3 separate regions of the Homo sapiens genome follow, and all the other regions are linked to region 1. The links are contacts of gene promoters, found by promoter capture Hi-C in blood cells and fetal thymus (Javierre and others, 2016). All regions are on one chromosome and are shown on one strand. Each heading gives the region's core, a stretch centred on a gene start or on the middle of the fragment in contact. The rest is flanking DNA. Distances are from core to core; before and after follow the strand shown. Region 1 holds the start of CWC22 (CWC22 spliceosome associated protein). Region 2 has its middle 54 kb from the start of LINC01934. Region 3 overlaps UBE2E3 (ubiquitin conjugating enzyme E2 E3).

Evidence for each region. Contacts are between HindIII fragments. The CHiCAGO score rates a contact against its expected background, and 5 or more counts as called.
Region 2: a fragment that was not itself captured here is called in contact with the fragment with the promoter of CWC22 in region 1 in 8 of 17 cell types (total CD4 T cells, M1 macrophages, non-activated CD4 T cells and 5 more); the score reaches 13.5 in total CD4 T cells.
Region 3: a contact is called between a fragment that was not itself captured here and the fragment with the promoter of CWC22 in region 1, in 3 of 17 cell types (naive CD8 T cells, naive B cells and total CD8 T cells). The highest score is 6.2, in naive CD8 T cells.

What each region holds. Positions count from the first base shown.
Region 1 is chr2:180,005,276-180,009,598 of GRCh38, forward strand. It overlaps CWC22 (CWC22 spliceosome associated protein), which reads right to left and starts at 2,022. Exons shown (of 20, transcript NM_020943.3): 1 at 1,592-2,022. RefSeq lists an enhancer at 1,170-1,702. The HindIII fragment of the contact is 3,569 bases long and covers 1-3,415 here.
Region 2 is chr2:181,068,026-181,072,348 of GRCh38, forward strand. No RefSeq gene overlaps it. Among named protein-coding and RNA genes, the nearest start is that of LINC01934, 54 kb to the right of the region's middle. The HindIII fragment of the contact is 267 bases long and covers 2,235-2,501 here.
Region 3 is chr2:181,046,928-181,051,250 of GRCh38, forward strand. All of the region lies in intron 3 of UBE2E3 (ubiquitin conjugating enzyme E2 E3), which reads left to right. Among named protein-coding and RNA genes, the nearest start is that of UBE2E3-DT, 68 kb to the left of the region's middle. The HindIII fragment of the contact is 688 bases long and covers 1,478-2,165 here.

The DNA of each region.
Region 1 (4,323 bases), core at 772-3,271:
ACACTTAAAACTAGGACACTAGCCGGGAGCGGTGGCTCACGCCTGTAATCCCAGCACTTTGGGAGGCCGAGGCGGGTGGATCACAAGGTCAGGAGACAGACACCATCCTGGCTAACACAGTGAAACCCCGTCTCTACTAAAAATACAAAAAATTAGCCAGGCGTGGTGGCGGGCACCTTAGTCCCAGCTACTTGGGAGGCTGAGGCAGGAGAATGGCATGAACTAGGGAGGCGGAGCTTGCAGTGAGCCGAGATAGCGCCACAGCACTCCAGCCTGGGCGACAGAGTAAGACTCCGTCTCAAACAAAACAAAACAAAACAAAAAACAAAAAACAACTGGAAGGACACTTACAGGTGGAAAGGCAACATTCAGAACCAGAGAACAAGAATTGAGGAACAGAGAGAACTCATCAACTGTATCATAGTAGTAATTTACAATAATACAACGCTAACGCTGTGCTCAGTGCCTCATCTGCATTATTTTTCTTTATACTCAAAAAAAGACAATACAGTGAGGCAGGTATTGTATTACTACCTACATGTTTCCAGATGATGAAGCTGACACTAGAGACTTTAGGTAACTTGCTCCAAGTGACAGACCTAATAATAGCTGGATAAAACAGAAATCTTTGGTCTACTAGTCCATCACCCAGGACCAACACAAGTGGCTTTCCTCCACCTACTGATAACGCCTGTAACAATGCTTCTCCTCTCCTGGTCAAAACCACACTTTTAATGTCAATTTTAAATCTGCCCTTCCATAGTAGGATGATAATTTATGTTAACTCCTGAATTCACAAGCAATCCTAAAACAAGGTAAGTCTAAATACAGATAAGAGGTAGGTTAACTGATCTGCTGAGAACCAAGTTTGCTTGCTTATCTGCTATTTCGAGTCTCTGCACATCTAAAAATGCAAAGGAAACTCTTACCTAATTCTTGCATCTAGAATAGCCTTTCTCCAAATCCTGCCTTCTCCACTTACCTCAGAAGAATTGTTAGGATTAAATGGAAATAGGTACCGTGGTTTTTGCAGTTAAACTCAGTGAAATTAACTATTATATTTCCGTTATATAATGCTGTGTTGTAGGACCCAGAGCTCGTTAGAGAGGTGGAGCCTGGAGACCCAAGTTTGGCAGTTATTACCTCACTGGAGATAGTTCAAGTTATGGAAGGATCAAGAATGACAGATGAAGCGGGCACATGAGAAGCGAAGTGTCTTCAAGACTAAACACTAGACACTATCAGTATTTACAGGGCAAATAAATGAAAAAGAAGACGCTAATGAAATTTAAAACAAATAGTCAAAGGGATATAATGCCGGCAAGAGGCATAAGAGTGCAAGTAATTCAACTAACTTTTAATCAACTAGATCTCATTAATCCCACTCCCCTGACCCTGGGACCCGGGCACTAGGAAAGGGGCTTTGGCAAGCCCCAATGGACTCCAGAGGCTCTAAGTATAAAACGCAGTGCACAAGAAACAACACAGCACCAGCGTTGGTGCAGGATTTCAGACAGCTCCAGGAACTTCACAAGGAAGGTCAGCCGGTCCGCTCAGGCAGTCAGTTCATGGCAGCCCATTCCCTCCCCACCTGCTTGGACCTAGCCGCTCTCACACCCCTCTTGCGGGCCCGAGCGTAGCGAGAAGACCCACGCACACTCCAATGCCGCTCACAGCCGTATCAGTGAGCCCGCACCCACTCCTGGGGGTCTTTTACTTCCCACCCGATCCGGCGACCCGCCACCCCCACTCCGCGTCTCTGCCTGCGGGGACTCCACGGAGTTCGATAATTACCTAGAGCTCCACCGCGCCGCCATTACACCGGACGTACGTCACTTCCTCTTCCCGAGCACCGACGGTAGGAAGAAGGCGAATAGTGAAATATTTAAAAACTTGACGCTCAATTGGCTTGACACGTTATCCCTTTAATTTATTTCAAATACCATATCATAATACCAGAGTCAAAGTAGTCGATCCAGGCACACTGTCTTGTTGCCAAAATGGCGACAAAAAAGAGAAGTTGGCATGAACTACAAAGTCCGAAATCCAGCGCCTGTGCTGACGGAAATGAGGAAAGCATAATTGTAGTTTAGCGTGAAATGGCGCGGTGTACGATGGGAATTGTAGTTCATACAGATGCGCGCCAGCGAGTTAACATCCACGCTGCTCACTGGCAGCCTAGTAGTGTTCAGGGTCTAGCCGAATTTACTTTAAAACTATTTCACTGCATTTTGGGGAAATTTTTTTTAAAAAAGCAGTCAGTTGTCACTTTCCTTGAAAAATCTTAAGAGAGAGATTTTCCTGAGACTTTATAAGAGTTTGACCAACAGTTAAGTGCCTAATAAATTCCAAGATATCCAGGCCATAAGAATGGGAGAATATTAAATCATAAATAGAGTGAAATAATGAGGAAAAACTAATTCTATAGAGACTGTGTTGCCTCTCTTTTAGGTTAAGGTACCAACTGGTATGACCTGAGAATAAAGAGATTGCCTGGCTGAGTAGGAAGTAGCAGTTTGTACAGCGTGCAGAACTAGGGCATCAAACAGTTTCTTTAAACTTCACTTTTCACTAGTAACAAAACCTAAAAGTTCAACTACTTGCTATTTTGGAAACTCTCTTCCTAAACCAAGAATATCTTTATGTTATCAAATCTTTCATAAACCAGGACTGGTTTCTCCACACACTTCTCTATTACAGTTTTAGGGTGCTGTGCTTCCACTCCTTTCTGGAGGCAGAGTGTGATGATTAAGAATAAAAACACTGCAGTTGGACTACTTATTTTGAATCTTGAGTCCTTTTATTATTTATGGATGACTGGGGCAAGTAACTTCACATTCTGTGGCCGTTTCCTGATCTGTTAAATGGAAATACCAATAGTATCCATCCAGGCAGTAGTTTTAAGAATTGAATTAGTTGATACACAAGATGCATTTAAGATAATTGCTAGTATACAATAGTGTTATCTATTTTATTTCATATTTAAGATATTTGGCCATTGTTGATGGTGCATTTTGGTGCACCAATACAGGGCACAGGAGATGGATCTGGAGATGAACATTTGTATTCATATATTTAAAAACCCACAATACTACCGGTGATGGTTAATTCTGAATGTCAACTTGATTGGATTGAAGGATGCAAAGTATTGATCCTGGGTGTATCTGTGAGGGTGTTGCCAAAGGAGATTAACAGTTGAGTCAGTGGACTGGGGAAGACAGACTCACCCTTAATCTGGTGGGAACAATCTAATCAGCTACCATCGAATATAAAGCAGGCAGAAAAATATGAAAAGGCAAGACTGGCCTAGCCTCCCAGCCTATATCTTTCTCCCATGCTGGATGCTTCCTGCCCTCAAACATTGGACTCCAAATTCTTCAGTTGTGAGACTCAGACTGGCTCTCCTTGCTCCTCAAGCTTGCAGACAGCCTATTGTGGGACCTTGTGATTGTGTAAGTTAATACTTAATAAACTCCCCTTTTTATATATATATCCTTATATATAGATATATATATTAGGATATATATATAAGGATATATATAAAAAATAGGATATATATGTAATAGGATATATATACGTGTGTGTGTGCGTGTGTGTGTATCTATCTATCTATCTATCTATCTATCTATCTATCTATCTATATCCTATTAGTTCTGTCCCTCTAGGGAACCCTGATGAATATACTACCTCTACAACTATCAACAGAAATAGGAAAGTTAGGGTTGAGCAGAGGAGAACTAGATGGAGCTGGAAAAGAATTGGATTTGTCAGTTGGGTCCTTCAGGAAGCAGACACTGAGAAAGAGTTATGAATAATAAAGGTGAAAGGAAAATGGAGGAAATAGTAGCTCCAGAATAAAGATGAAGAGGCCTACAATGGGATGAAATGGCTAGGCCCTTGTACCAGTTTTGCTCAGTCACTGGCTAGAGCCACCCCAAGAAGAGTGTGGCCTCAACTAAAAACCCAAGGTGGACATGAAGATTCAACAGTTGAAGGCTGTCACCTAACCACACTGCTTGCAGCTAGGCTACAAGCAAGTCCTTTCTTGAAGAGGTATCTGAGCAGCATCTCTCTGTGCCTGTCACAGTCTCCATACACCCAGTCTCCATACACCTTTCAGGAACAACTTTTCCAGGGTTCTAGTGCACATTTCTTCCTAAAAAAAATTTAGAAGTGGCAAGTTAGTGAGACAAACTACACTCCCCATCTTTGGGTCCTGAGGCCACACTGAATCCATTGCCTCTCTTCTCCACTATTCATTCTAAATTTCCCTTGCTGTCAGCTACTGCTCTACTGCTCTCTATGGTAAACTGGTGGTGTAAA
Region 2 (4,323 bases), core at 1,118-3,617, 1.1 Mb after region 1:
GTGTTTAAAATAGAGACTGACTTAATCTTGTAATTTTAAACTTTCCTTAAATTCACCAGAATATTTTCTGTCCTACAAATTTTACATAATTTCTCATTATCATTACTGTCTTCTTAATGGATATTTCTCCTATCCTTTTTTATTGGTAAAAAGAAAACAACTAAATACATGTATCTGCTTGCTGTATTTTAAGGAAATCTAATAGAAGAAATGGAAACTGATGGCCTTTGAGAACATCTTTTAAGATAAATATTTTAGGGAAAGGGAACTAGTATACCATTTGGTAATGTGGAACGGAGTACTCTGGAATGTTGGAAGTCGTTTATTGAAATATTTTTCAAGTCTTTTTGTTTTCTGTATGTGTGTGTGTGTTTTTCACTTCTCGCTTCTGGGAGAAAAGGGAAATGGAGTAGGATGAAGAGTCACAGGGTCATTTTTTTCTGTATTGCCCCATGTTATTTCTTTGCCAGTAGGTTGAATTGAAAGGTAACTGGGTAAGAAGCACCCTAGTTTCAGAAGTATAATTTCAACAACTTCTATTTTGTCTCACACCATGAGTATTTCTTAAGTTAGCTTAGCAAACTCAGATATGTTGGCTGCTCCCACCTTAGTCCAAGAGAAGGAAAAGGTAAATCTGTGAAGGAATGGGTTGCCGAGAGGTGTGTGGTACTAAGTCCTGACAGCTAGGGGCCCAGGTCTGTAAGGAAAGTCAGGGATTCTCTAGTGATTGAGATTGGGGTAGTTAGGTCTTCATATGAGCATTTCAAGTTTTCATCTACAAAGTGATGAAGAAGAGTATTAATTTATGAGATAAAGAGTATGAGGGGATAACACTGTAGGGCTTTCACTGGCACCCCTTACCTGATTCCTTTATCATCGTTTGAAGAGCACTTTTTAGCCCTCTGCTAAACTCTTGCTGTGGTCACAGAACTCTCAAATGGTGAAGATCATTTTAAATATGCATGAGACACCATGTTTTTTCTTCCATGGTTATTTTTTTTTAAGGACATATATAATGTTTTACTTGTGTATGTATATCATCTCAATTATGAGCCCCTAGAAATAAGGGATCCAATTTATTTCATTCAGTAAGTTATTAGTTGTGTACACTGGAATATTGGTTTGGGTGCTTAGGATTAGCAGTGAATAAAATACACGAAAATTCCTACCCTTATGGAGTTTACTTTCAATTGCTAGGAGACAGACCAAAAAAATTTAAAAGTGTATATATATATGTGTGTGTGTGTGTGTGCGTACGCACACATTCTCACACACATATATGTATGTTAGATGGTAAGTGTTATGGAGAAAAACAAAGTAGGGAAGGGAAATAGTGTGTGCAGTGAGGGAGAAAGAAAGGGGAGGTTGAATTACAGTTATAACAAGGGTAGTCGGGGAAGACCTCACCTAAAAAATGAGTCAAGAGCTGAAGATGGTGAGGAATAAGCCACATAGGAAAAGAGTCCTACAGGCGGAGGGAATACCAACTGAAAAAATCTTGTAACAAGAGCATGCCCAATGCATTCAAAAGGTAGCAAGTGCTTAGGAGGGCTGGAGCAGGTGAGCAACTAGGAGAGGAATAGGAGGCCAGGTCAAGAAGATGACAGGTGGGCAGATCACATAGGGTCTTGTATTTCATTTTAAGGAGTTTGGCTAGTATTCTAAATAAGATGGGACACCACTGGAAGCTGTTTTTAGCCAACGAGCAACAGGACATGATTTATTAGAATCTGATCAGTCAGAGAAAAACTTGCTGTGGGGCTAAGGAATTGGGAGCAGGGGGACCAGTTAGGAGGCTAATGCAGTAATCCAGGTGAGAGATACCAGTGACTTCAACCTGGGTGGTGGCAGTGTAAGTAGTAAGAAAAGGTCAGGTTCTGGTTAAAAATAGAGCTAAGAAGATTTGCTGATAGATTGAATATGTGGTGTGAAAAAGGAGTTAGAGTTTAGGGCCTGAGCAAACTAGTAGGCTGTAGTTGTCATTAACCAAGGTGAAAAACTCGAGGGTGAAGCAGGATAGGGAGAAAGATTATGAGCTTAGTTTTTGACAGGTTAAGTTTGAAATGCCTATTAAACATCCAAATGGAAGTGCAAGATTGGATATACAAATTTGGAATTCAAGAGTTCTGGGCCAGGGATGTATATTTGTGACACGTGAGTGTGTAGTTGGTATTTATAGCTGTGAGACCTATGATCACTCACTCAAGGGAATGAGTGCTGCTAGAGAAGAAAGAAGCTTAGGCACTCCCAGCATTAGGAGGCTGAGGAGAGATGAGTCAGCAAAGTAATCCAGGAAGGAACGCTCAAGAAGTGAAAGGAAAATCAGGAGAGTGTGATAACCTGAAAGGGAAGTAAAAAGTTTCAAGGAGGTGGGAATGATCTACCCCATGAGAGACTACTGATAAGCCAAATAAAATAAGGACCTAAATAGCCATTAGCAACTCAGGAGTCCTAGACACTGGTGACTTTTATATGCAATTTTGTTGGAGCAATGAAATTAAAGCTTGATTGAATAAAGTAACAAGGAATAGAGAACTTGGAGACTCCTGACAATTTTGCAGTGAAATAGAGAAGTAGGGAGTAGTTGGAGTTTCTTTAAGATGGGAGAAATTACAGCATGTTTGTATATTGATAGGAAAGATTAGAGAGGAGGAAGTGGATGGTGTAGGGGAGGAGGAGCAGTGTCCTTGAAAAAGTTATCTGCTACATAATTTATTCAGGGTGTTTTCAAAGTTCTGCACTACCTTGGACATCTGTCTTTCTCCCTGACTAGAGCAGAAGCTCTTTGGGAAGTGCAGCATCCAGCACTTACAGCAGCATTGTCATTCACCAAATTCTTGAGTTCCCCTAGATAAGCAAGAGGGGATAGGATCTAGTACAAGTGAGGTGTTTGGCCCTTGTTGTGAATTTGCAGAGGACATGGGCATAGGTGAGATTGGAGGGTAGATGTGGTTCGTAGGAAGTTCTTTGGTAGCTTCTACTCCTCCATGAAACGAGATGTTATTGGCTGAAAGTGAGAATGGGGAGACGACAGTTCATACATCTGTGTGACCCATTAATGTCCAGCAGAGTAACTAGTCGTTTGTGGTCAAGTGTAAAAATGAATGATTGAGTTGTCTATCTGGATGAGCCTTTCGTTTATTTCATAGTTAACATGTTAATGAACATGCAATTAAAACATCCATATCAGCTCGAATGGCTCCTCTTTTTCATCAGGTATGGTTTAGCAGTTGTTTGAATCTTTAGCACCTTAATTTTTGTTTCATTCAAGTGATTTTCCTGAAGTCATTGAAGAATCTACCTTGACACCAATTTTAACTAGAGAAATTCAATTATTTGCTGAAAGTTAATACTGCTTTAAATGCTGGACACAAAAATAGTTACGCTGTGTTTCCCAAAGAGGTCATCATGGTCTAGTCAGGAAGAGGGGTGTCCAAGGTGAGTTACACAGAGCTTTGGAAAAGCCTCAGTGGATGGTGTGGCAGATGACGTCCCTGAGTTTGCTAGAGGAAAAATGACTCTAGAAAACTGAGTATTCTTCCCTGTTCTATTTTATGGATGTGGTGGTCAGAGAAGGACATAGTGACCAATTTCTGTGACCCTCACTTCCACCATTGGTCCCGTGGCAAGACTCAGTTACAAGCCTTCTCTCCCTTTGGATTGTACCTCACTCAGGAAGTACGGAATTTGAAGATCAGATTTCATTTCCAGAAAATCCATAAGGCAGTCACAGCTTATGACCAAGGCTCACACCTTTTTTTCTGCTTACCTTTCCCTGCTATTGTCCTGACTTCTTGCCTCCCAAGATTGATATGTAAGAAGTGGGGCCATTTTTTTGCTTTTCTCTGAAAAACTAGTCAGCAAAGAGGTTGGAATTTTAATTGGTTTAACTACTTAACTTAGAAAGCCAAGAGTTAAATACTTAGAAGTGAAACTTTTTTTCTTTTCCTGATTGGGTCTTTCTGAACAATATTTTTGCTGTGATTATTGCACATTTAAGCCCAACTGTACTTTTTATCTGAAAAAAAAATAGGATATGACTCTTAACTGTCGTAAGCAGATTACAATAATATTCTTTAGAACACGGGTGTCTAATCTTTTGGCATCCCTGGGCCACATTGGAAGAATTGTCTTGGGCCACACATTAAGTACACTAACACTATAACGGTAGCTGATGAGCTAAAGAAATGGCCCATGCATAAATATCATAATGTAAGAAAGTTTACTAATTTGTGTTGGGCTGCATTTAAAGCCATCGTGGGCTGCAGGTTGGACAAGTTTGCTTTAGAATATTTCACATTTAGAGTGGTAGTTGCTTTCTTT
Region 3 (4,323 bases), core at 572-3,071, 1.0 Mb after region 1:
GAAAACTATTCAGAGTAGAAAGAGTATAAGTGAAAACTAGGTTTCCTTTTCACTACAGAGCACCACATCCTTTTTAGAGGTAACCAGTATTAGCATTTCCTTCTGTATTTTTACAGAAAGAGTTAGTTCATATTGCCAGCATACACATGCAGGTAGTTTTTGTAGTTTATTGGCATGATCACCACATGACTAGATGACGTCTTTAGTTTCTAACACACTTTTCAAACCCAGCTTCTTTCCATATCTCTTCATGTAATTAATCTCTCCTCTGCTTTGTTTCCATTTGCTTTTTTGTCCCTCTGTTAAACACCTGTTAGAGGTCTGACATGTATTATTGGGACTTAGGTGTGGTGGTCTCATCTCAGGTATCATCTCGCCTTCTTACTCTGTACTCTTTACCTAGCCTGGCTCATCCCACCTGCAGGACATTAAGGACCTGTGTATCAAGGTCTCACAAATTTATATCTATAGGACCAGGCCCCTTTATCTTACTTGTCTGTCTCTTTGACATACTTATCTTTTGGATATCTCATAAACTTCTTAGTCCCAGTGTATCCAAAACCAACTTTTTTTTCAACATCCATATCTTAGTTAATGGCATATACATTATCTCAGTCATAGCAGTCTGAAAACTATAAGCTATTCTCGAAACCCTCCTTTTCCTCACTTGTCCTATTTCAAAACGTAAGTCTGGTTGATTTTTGTTTTGTTTTGTTTTTTTCCTCCTAAATAACTCTCAAGTCCCTCTTCTTTGTCTCTGGTACCATATTAGTCTAGCCTATCATCATCTTTCACCCAGATTACTGCAGTGGTCCACCCACAGCCCCTCCGGGCCTCCTCCAGACCATTTTCCACAGAGCAGCCTGAGGAGGCCTTGCAAAATGTCCATATTAGTTTAACACTCCCCCTTTGTTGCTTAAAATCTTTTGATAGCTGCCTATTTCTTTTAATATAAAGACAAGTCTCCTTCATGTAGTCTTACAAGGTCCTGCCTAGACGTTTGTTACAGCTTCCCTCATTAGGTCGTTTCATTGTACTTCCCATGTTCTCTTCCCTTCTGCCACATTGTGCTTCCAGGCCCTGCTACTTGTTCCTGATGGCCTCAGGGCATTTTCCTATGCTTTGAAGTCCTCTTTCCCAGCCCTTTCCTTTCAGCTTCTACTGATAAACCCCCACTGGGGTATTTGAAATAATCTTTTAAATATTGCTTCCTCTGACTCTTCCCTTATCTCTCTAACATTTCCCCGGCATTCAACAAGGAATACCTTGCCTTTGTAGCGTTTTCTGTTTTATGTTTTTTTGTGAGTTTATTTGATTAAGATCTATATCCTCAGCTTGGCTGAAATCTCCATTGTATATTTAGTTTCTTGTACAGATTCCTAGCCCCAAATCGTAGACACTCAATAACTCCTTAATGAATGAATGAATTTGTTTTCTTTATTGAATCTAACAAGTACTGTATTTTGTATATTGTTAAAGCTTAAATACTTTTTTTGATTCAAAGTAAATTCATAGGTTCACAAGGCACAGTATGGATTAATAAGCAATACCATTTCCTGGTTGGTTGTTATAGAGATTACATAAGAATTCACACATTTACCAAAACGAGGTCATTCTTGGGAAGAGGAGTAGGAAGATAAAATCATGGGAACCACTAGCACATACCTAGGTCTGCCCTTTTAGTTAGTAGAATTATTTTTCTACGTTATTTCCCCAGCCACTCCTCTCACCCTAATTGTCTGTATTATAGCTTTCCCTAATTGTGAACTCCTAATTGCTTTCAACCTAAATAAATATGATTCTTTCTAAAACACTCAGGAATAACAACTGTTCACTTATAAACAGTTTTTGAAGTTTGGAAAGCAATATAGAGGTTTGGCTTTACTTTAGAAAAATATTACAGAAGCTACCTGTGTTCTCCGCCTACTTCACACATGCCCATTTAGCATTTGATGTACTTCATATAATTAAATTTGTTCTGCATCCTAAGGATTTTCCTGAGCCCCAGCCGCCTTGATAAGGTTGTTAAAATGAACAACTCATTGCTAAGATTACCTTTTCTCCCTCTCTTGGGCAGTAGAACTCAGCTGAGAGAATAGCGGCAACTAGGAGAAGAAAGGGTGATGGGTTGAGATTTCTGGAGATTTCAGCTGAGGGAGTAAAGAAGCTTCAGAGGATAAAGATATTCTTTATGTCACCATTAGCAGAGAAGTCAAGGATCTGCTGGACAGAGCAGCTTTTTGAGTGTAGGTATTTTAGCTAAGTTGGATATTATACACCACAATGAATGTGAATATAAAAAACAAGGGATTTAAGTGTGAAATTGTGACCACAGTATTGGCTAAAGACAATATACTTATAGATGTTGATATTTAATTTCACCACACCCACAGTTTATCCTGGCATCCCAGTGCCTGGTCCATAGTAGTTATTCACAATGTTGTTTAACTGACTGGACTTGGATGTGTGTTTGTGTGTGTTTTTTAAATTATTTCACCTTGTGTATGGTTGTACTTGTAGAAATGTTTTCATCTACATTTATATAAGTGTACAGTACTTTGCAATAAAAATACCTGTACCAGAATTCTTCTCTTACAAAGTGTTTCTTATGATTATACACAATAGACTTGACTGCGTTTGGATGATGACTGTCATAATAGGCCTTAAGATAGACAAAGCACAAGCTTTATAGTAATAGTTTTGAAGAAAGACTATATGGTAATTACTAGATCAAGAAAGCATTATTGCATTATCTGTGCAGATAGAAGCCTTTAGGCAGATGCCATAGTTTTTTTACTTCATCAGTCTTTTTATATGTACACCTGACTGCCAGAAATAGTTATTAATTCTTCAATGAAGATGGTTTTGCAGACTGAATTTATGTGTATGTATATAGCACGCACACCCAGCCATTTTATTTTTATGTTCAATCTAATTCCTTTAAACAAAAGACTATGAAATACTACTACTTTTCTGTAGGCCATGTGATAAGGTTGTTAGGGCTGGACAGAAAGAAAAAATATATTTATTTGCCATACCCTGAATATATGAAATGAAGACTAGATTTCAAAAATCTTACTTTCAGGCATCACAGTAATTTACAAAAAGGCCAATAAGTTACACAAGCATTTGTAGTAATTTATGTAAAAGATGTGAAGCTGGTAAGGGATGGTTCAAAAACTTACATATCAGAATCTGCTTAATACAAATTTTAGGAAAAGAATCCACTTCTTTACAAGGCAATACTCTGATCACTATTTCCTGAACAGTTATTGAAGGTGTTTCAAGCAAGAGTTACATACTAGTATAGATTTTTAATGCAAATGGCCATATTTGTTTTGAAGGTGATACCTTGTGGGTTTTCTTCAACTCTTTCAAAACTTGAATTTTATATCATTTTGTTTTTCCTCCCATCCCCACATCCTAAGTGCTAAAAGACTCTAAAACTCATCTTGTCACCTGCTGTTTTGTTCAACGGGATTCTCTTCAGAAATATAATCCTAAAGTTTGGGAGGGACTCTTAGAGTAGACACTTAAGCAGAGATGGAACAAAGAATTAATAATCCAAATTATATGAAGCATTTAAAAGTCTGTAGAGTAGAAGCCATTACAGAATCACCTTTAGTACGTGATTAGATACCTTTATTTCTGAATCTGTTTACATTTTATTTTTGGCAGGAGCTGGGTAATTAAAAATATTTGTATGGATTTATTGCTTTCAAATTTGTGGTGAAGACATTTTAGAAGAGAATCTTAGCTCTGCATATACGACCCTAGGCAAGTCACTTAACCTTTCTGGCTCGGTTTCTCATCTGTGAAATTGTGATAAAAATACTCGAACAGGATTACTACTATTGAGTTAGATGTGATATAAAGCACCTGGCAAAGAGTGGGCACTCCATAAAATGTTCTTTCTTTCTTTAGTTATGTTAATAGTAAAATAGAGCTCTGGTGTGCTTTGAAACTTCCTTCTTTCTTGTTTCAACGTACAGTAATAGGTAAGACTTGAGTAATAATCCAGTAATCCTTTCATGTATTCTAGCTTGAACATTTTTTTAAAGGAAATAAAACTATATATAGTTGAAGTTTCTTCGTACTTTCTTCCCAGTCTCATTCCTTTTCCTTCCGGCCCAGAGGCAATAACTATCCTGTATTTTTGGTCCATGATTTCTGCATGTTTTCATACTTTCACGGTGTATGTATGCATTCATAAACAATATGTGGGATCTTTTTTATGTTTTTAAAACTTGAATAAATGGTATTAAATTACATGTTTAATCCTTCAGCTTAACTTTTTTCACTCAGCATTATTTTTGAGAGCTA